Linked DNA regions of Homo sapiens: region 2 is linked to region 1. The links are contacts of gene promoters, found by promoter capture Hi-C in human tissues and cell types (Jung and others, 2019). All regions are on one chromosome and are shown on one strand. The core of a region is centred on a gene start or on the middle of the fragment in contact, and the rest is flanking DNA. Distances in the headings are between cores, read along the strand shown. Region 1 holds the start of TRAF4 (TNF receptor associated factor 4). Region 2 holds the start of NUFIP2 (nuclear FMR1 interacting protein 2).

What was found. Contacts are between HindIII fragments. The study calls those that stand out against the background at their distance.
Region 2: the fragment with the promoter of NUFIP2 here is called in contact with the fragment with the promoter of TRAF4 in region 1 in 1 of the 25 tissues and cell types used here (dorsolateral prefrontal cortex).

The regions. Positions count from the first base shown.
Region 1 is chr17:28,742,203-28,745,499 of GRCh38, forward strand. TRAF4 (TNF receptor associated factor 4) reads left to right here and starts at 1,809. Exons shown (of 7, transcript NM_004295.4): 1 at 1,809-2,053. The coding sequence starts at 1,911. NEK8 (NIMA related kinase 8) reads left to right here. Exons shown (of 15, transcript NM_178170.3): 15 at 1-1,253. RefSeq lists enhancers at 885-1,885, 909-1,203 and silencers at 909-1,203, 1,658-2,067, 2,088-2,287. The HindIII fragment of the contact is 18,595 bases long and covers 1-3,297 here.
Region 2 is chr17:29,292,856-29,296,144 of GRCh38, forward strand. NUFIP2 (nuclear FMR1 interacting protein 2) reads right to left here and starts at 1,293. Exons shown (of 4, transcript NM_020772.3): 1 at 928-1,293. The coding sequence starts at 1,204. RefSeq lists silencers at 1-141, 772-891 and enhancers at 598-1,358, 1,052-1,151, 1,462-1,661. The HindIII fragment of the contact is 16,686 bases long and covers 1-3,289 here.

The sequences.
Region 1 (3,297 bases), core at 559-3,058:
CTCCCTTCAGTCAGTGTCCCCAGGGTCCAGCCTGGCTAGAGTTAGAAGGCAGACCTAGCCTTTGGAAGCAGGGTGGCCTCCAGAGCCTTGCCATAAAAAGGCTGAAGGCAGCCGGGCGCAGTGGCTCACGCCTGTAATCCCAGCACTTTGGGAGGCTGAGGCGGGCGGATCACGAGGTCAGGAGATCGAGACCATCCTGGCTAACGTGGTGAAACCCCATCTCTACTAAAAATACAAAAAAATTAGCTGGGCGTGGTGGCACGCGCCTGTAGTCCCAGCTGCTCAGGAGGCTGAGGCAGGAGAATGGCGTAAACCCCTCCAGCCTGGGCGACAGAACCAGACTCCGTCTCAAAAAAAAAAAAAAAACAAAAAAGGCTGAAGGCAGCTGTAGCTCCACACAGACCCTACCCTTTCCCCTAGCCCAGTTAGAAAATAAGTCTGGGCCGGCGGCGGTGGCTCACACCTGCATAGGCAGTGCTTTGGCCAGGAGGATCCCTTGATCCCTTGTGGCCAGGAGTTGGGAGACCAGCCTGGGGACCATAGCGAGACCGCTGTCTCCACCAAAAAAAAAAAAAAAGAAGAAAATAAGGCTGGGTGCGGTGGCTCACGCCTGTAATTCCAGCACTTTGGGAGGCCAAGGCGGGCGGATCACTTGAGGTCAGTAGACTGAGGCCAGCCTGGCCAACATGGTGAAACCCCGTCTCTACTAAAAATACAAAAATTAACCAGGCATGGTGACGGGCGCCTGTAATCCCAGCTACTCTGGAGGCTAAGGCAAGAGAATCCCTTGAACCCGGGAGGTGAAGTTTGCAGTGAGCCGAGATCGCACCACTGCACTCCAGCCTGGATGACAGAGCAAGTCTCCCTCTCAAAAAAAAAAAAAAAAAAAAAAAAAAAAAAGTATTTGGTGCTTACCGGGACTCTATCTCCATACTTTGGAGCAGGGCAAGCCAGGGCCTGCCTGGACTGGCCATTAGGCCTGCCTAGCTTCTGCATAGCCCGGGGCTGGGCGGTCCCCGGGAGTGCTGCCACCTCCCCTACACTTTCATCCTGAGGCAGGATTTGCTAGACGTCGGCTTGCCTCTCTTCCCCAGCAGGAGGGCAGGAGTCACTAAGTGCTGCAGAAAAGATCCGCGCTGGAGATTGCCCGTCCCCCCCATGCCTTTCCCCAGAAACAGTTGAGAGAATGGGTAGCTGGTGGGACCAGACCGGTTTCCCAGAGGACAGGAAGGCCAATAAAAATATCAGCTGCCTGCCTGGAGTGTGGTGTCTTCAAGGGTGGGGGTGGCGACCAGGCACCCCAGGACTGGGCTGGGCCCGACCTCGGTGGCAGGGCTGCGGCCAAGGGAGGAATGTGGGCGCAGCCGGAGGCTGGGGCCGAGGTTCCTCTGGCCCAGCGCCCAGTCCAGCCTCCCCGCCCCAGCTGGGCTCCCCGGAGCTGGTTGCCAGGCTTCGGCTGCCTAGCACCTGGAAGCTGGGGCCACGGTTCCTGGGCTGCTCACGGCCCCGGAGGCCGAGCTGTTGCCTCTGGAGAAGAAAACCTTTGTGGCGCGGCCCGTCCCCTTTTCCGACCCGCACTTCCCCGGGGCCCGCGGGCTCTGGGGAGAAGCGGAGCCACGATCTCTGTCCCCCAGGGGAAAGAAAAGCCCATGATCCCGTGGGTGGGCGAGACTGGCGGTCACCAGACCCAAAAACCATGCACTCGGGGGTGGGCGGGGCCGCGAGGGCGCGCATTAGGACCGCGCGGCCGCGGTCCGCCCTCTCTTCCGGAGGGCGGGCTTCACAGCCGAGCCCTGGCCGCGACCGCCAGTCGGCGCCGCCCGGAGCCGGGAGCGCCGCTCCAGCGAGGCGCGGGCTGTGGGGCCGCCGCGTGCCTGGCCCCGCTCGCCCGTGCCGGCCGCTCGCCCGCCATGCCTGGCTTCGACTACAAGTTCCTGGAGAAGCCCAAGCGACGGCTGCTGTGCCCACTGTGCGGGAAGCCCATGCGCGAGCCTGTGCAGGTTTCCACCTGCGGCCACCGTTTCTGCGATACCTGCCTGCAGGAGTTCCTCAGGTGCTGGCCGGGGAGCAGGGGACAGCGGGGGCGGGGCGGGGCGGGGGGCGCCGCCTGGGGAGGGTCTCGGGCCCGGGGCAAGGCGGGCCTTTGTCTGCGCTGCGACCCTGTGACCTCAGGGGCGCCCCGTGACGTCACGGGGAGGGATGACGTCAAGCCCCGAGGGAGGCCCCCCCCGCAGGAATCCGAGGGGTCCGGGCGGGTCCCAACTGCCCGGCCCGGGGCGGAAGACCTCGGCGCCTTCTCGTGGGGTCAGGAGGGGAAGAGGCCCTTCCCCGTCACCTGAGAGCCGGCGCGGCCTCAGCCTTGAACTTTGAATCCTGGGGGAAGAGGACAAAACCCGCTCCCGCGTGGCAGTTTGAGCCTCCGGAGCTTTCCCCCATCTAACCTCTTCTGATTCTTCGAACGTTCAGAGAACGGTAGCTATTGTTCTCCCATTTCACAGATCATGAAACGAGATTCAAAGAAAGGCTGCGACTTGCCCAGGGTCACATAGTTACTTAAAGGCTTAACTAGGATTTAAACCCGGACTGCTTATGATCACACAATGGAGGAAGGACTGAATCCTCCCCCGAAGAAGGACCCCTCTAGGCGGCTCCCCTCTCTCCCGGGGGCTGGAGTAAGGCGGGTGGTCCATAAGTCATGAAGAAGGGGGTCGCACTCGTGTTGTTACTGAACTCCCGCTGCCCTCTCAGGACGCAGGTTAGCCCTTGGCTCTTGGGCATCCATCAAGTTTCTGGGCGCCCTGTATGTCTTGAATCTCCTGCTCACGCAGGGAACCCCTCAGGCCCGGGTGTGGGAAGCAGGGTGAAGGAGCCCCGACTCTTCGGAGGTCATGCCCCCAGAGCGCAGGGGAAGGCCGAGTCGGCCACTGCCTGGCTGTTTGCTGGGACGAGGGGATCGAGGGCCTGGCAGGGATAGTACCTCTGAGACGCCTGCCTCCGGTGCTCCCTCCCGCCGTGCCTCCCTCCCTCGCTCGGTCCTCCGTAGCTCCTACTGGCGGAAATCTCAGCAGGCCCTTTGTTTTCTGTTCCCCACAGCCTGGGCCGGCTCCTGCCCTCACATATGCTCCGGCACAAGCTGCAGGACTGCCCCCTCCCCCTCGGCAGTGTACACATTTACTCTCCTACAGACACAGCCCCATTGTCTCCGCCACTGCTCTTCCCCGGCCCTCTGGGTTCCAGATGAGGCCAGCTGAGCCCCCCGACCCCCCCACAGCTGACCCACCCTGACTGCCTCGGGAA
Region 2 (3,289 bases), core at 43-2,542, 550 kb after region 1:
CGGGTTACACAACCCCGGCCGGCGACGGGGGGGGGGGCGGCCGCGGTGCGGGGGGCGCCGGCGCCCCCGCAGTGCAGGGGGCGAGGCTGCGGCCGGTGGTGATCCCGGGTCACCCGGCTCCGCCGCCCCGTGTGGCCCTCGACACCCTTCCCCCTCCGCTCCTCAGTGGGCCGGAGTCGGTGACAGGAATCGGCTTCCAACATGGCGGACAGGAAGCGGCCCCGCGAGGAGGAGAGAACATTCCAGCCGCGCCGGCTCTGGGGGGAGCGGGCGCGGGGCGCCGGCCTCGGGAGGAGCCGCGGGACAAGACTGCGGGGTCCGGCGCCCAAAAAGGGCGTTTAGTGGTGGAAATGACCCGTGAGATGAGGGGTCCCAACAGCCCCCCCCACCGAGACGGGGAGCCCCAAGGCCACAGGTGGGCTTGGGGTGGCGGGTGAGGGGCACTTCCTCAACTCACCCTACCTACCCACTCCTCGCCGCCTGCAAAAGGGTCTCGCGACACCATCCGAGTCGGGATTCGCTAGGCCTTCCTGAGTTACACCTCGAGGGATTTTTTGGGGGGGTAGGTTTACCCCATCTCAGGGCCCCCAAATTGAGGTAACTCCAGGGACGCAGGGAGGTGAATGGGAAAAGAATAATGAGGTTGGACTTGCAAGGCCGACCCAGCAGGTCTCCCTTCAGCCGGGGCCGGGGCCAGGAAGGTCACGCTGGCCTGGCTGGGCCTCTCCCATGCTGGAGGGAAGGAGAGGGCGCTGCAAACCCCATTGCTCAGCCCGAGCTCTAGAATGAAAGGGGCATCCCCAGAGCCGGAGGGGACACACACACACACACCCCGACCCCGTCCGCGCTTTTCGGATCCAGCCCCACCCCCATCTCTCCTGTCCTCCACCCCCAACCCCCTTCCCCCACCCGTCCTCCCTCCCAGACCTGTTTTCTTCTTCGGCGTTTCCTGGTGCTGCTGGAGGGTGTGTTTCTGCTCATGTTTCAGCGGCTTTGGCTGGGCCTTGGGGCTGCCCTCGGCTCCATGCTGCAGGTATTGGTGAGGCTGCTGGTGATGATGGTGGTGGTGGTGGTTGTGGCTGTGGTTGTAGAAATAATAATGGTGGTGGTGGTGCGGCTGCTGCTGCTGCTGCTGAGGGTGATGGTGCGGATGGTGGTGGCTGTGATGGTGCTGAGGCTGTGGCTGGCCGGGCTTCTCCTCCATTGAAAGCGGCTGGGACTCCCTGGCTGAGGCTGCGGGCTGCTGCACCGTCAGGATCTGAGACTGCTTCTCAGGGCTCACTCAGTATATCTGAGCGCGTCTCGCCAGCGCACTGGTTAACCGAGCGATTCTGCGAGATTGGCAGCCGCACTCCAACAATCAGGAGCCACGCTGTGCCGCAAGCCCCGCCCCCAGCTCAAATCCTCTTTCCTTCCCCTTCGCCGCTGCCGCCTGGCCAACGCCACTTACCCTGTGCAACCTCACAGGGCCGGGCCTTCAACGTCAGCACTATGGCTCTCTCTTCTGTCGCTTTCTCTCCTTCACCACGCAGTCTGTGAACAGCACTTTCTACACTCCTCGCCGGCAAGCAGGCTCGTGTCGAGGGTAGCAGATTCCACTGGCGATTCCACTGGTGCTGTGAGCCATCTGCTGGCTTTGCACCTCTTAGAATCTGGTGTTTTTTTGTTTTTTGTTTTGTTTTGTTTTTAATCCTTTTCCGGGTAACCAGAAAGGGAAGCTCAATTCCCTTAACCCCGAGACCACTAAAGGGGCAATACAAAAAGAGGAAATAAATACATTTTTAAGCATACAAGAGCTTCACAATCCAGTAGATCATTTTGTATTCTGGATTCATTTTGCTTTGTATTCATATGCTAATCTCTTCCTTTCCACGAAGGGATTATAGGGTTCCACAATGGGGTATCTGTGTAATTTTCTAAAAGGGCACAAAGGGTTTAAATCATTGTTTCTTTGTAGTTGGAGGCAAGGGAGAGCAGGAGGAATGAAAATTTACACTGAAGGTTTTTTTTTTTTTAATTAAACTCTGCAGGTGAGGTCAACTGTGGAACCAAAATAGGTTTTAGAATGAGAAGTTTCAAGAGCAAAGGAAGGGGAGAAAGAGCACTTAAAAGTTATTAAGTGGGTTTGTTTTTTTTTTTTTTGGCACTTATGGAAAAATTGAAATTAAAAGAAATATTCTGTAGCGTTTTGTAGTGTAGATTTAACTTATCCTGCATTACCACATCACAGTATATGATTTTCAAAAGCAAATGTTAGAGCCATGATAGTGGTTACTCAGGAAGGAAGAGGGTTGTGATGGGGAGGGACACAGGTTACTCTGATAATATTTCATTTTGGGGGCTAGGTGGTGATTACATATATTTGCTTAGTAATTATTTGTTAAACTGAATATACAGATAAAATGCACTTTTCCCAATGTATGTTATAGATTGGGGGATTTTTTTAATTGTAAAATATTCATAATATAAAATTTACCATCTTAATATTAAGTGTATGGTTCAGGTGCATTAGGTACATTCGTATTGTTGTAGAACCATGACCATCATCTATCTCCAGAACTTTTTCATCATTCCAAACTGAAACTTCATACCCAATAAAAATAAATGTCCTTTCCCTCCTCCTTCCATCCCTTGATAACCACTGTTCTGTTTTCTGTCTCTACGAACTTGACTATTCTAGGTACCTCATATAAGTGGGATTGTACTGTATTTGTCTTTTTGTGACTAGCTTTTTTGCATAATGTCTTCAGAGTAGCATACATCAGAATTTCCCTCTTTTTTAAGGCTGACTAATATTCCATTATATGTATATACCACATTTTGTTCATTCACTCAGCAACGGACATATGGACTGTTTCCTCAATGTATGTTACGTTTTTGAATTTTTAAAATGTGGCTTGAATTCCTACAACAGGACAACATTAAAGGAACAAGAAGCTTGAAAGCAAAAAGTTTATGCTATGAAATTAATGAATGTCAATGCAAAAGCTTATTTAAAACGTAAAAGCTGGTTTCCAATAACAAATGTCATTGAATCCTGAAAACCATGACCAAATTTTGGCATGTTCTATACAGTAAGGATTTGTGTTGCCTTGTTAAATTTTATTTTATTTTATTTTGAGATGGAGTTTTGTCCTTGTTGCCCAGGCTGGAGTGCAATGGCATGATCTCAGCCCACCGCAACCTCTGCCTCCTGGGTTCAAGCAATTCTCCTGCCTCAGCCTCCTGAGTAGCTGGGATTACAGGCATGCGCCACTGTGCCAGGCTAATTTTGTATTTTTAATAGAGA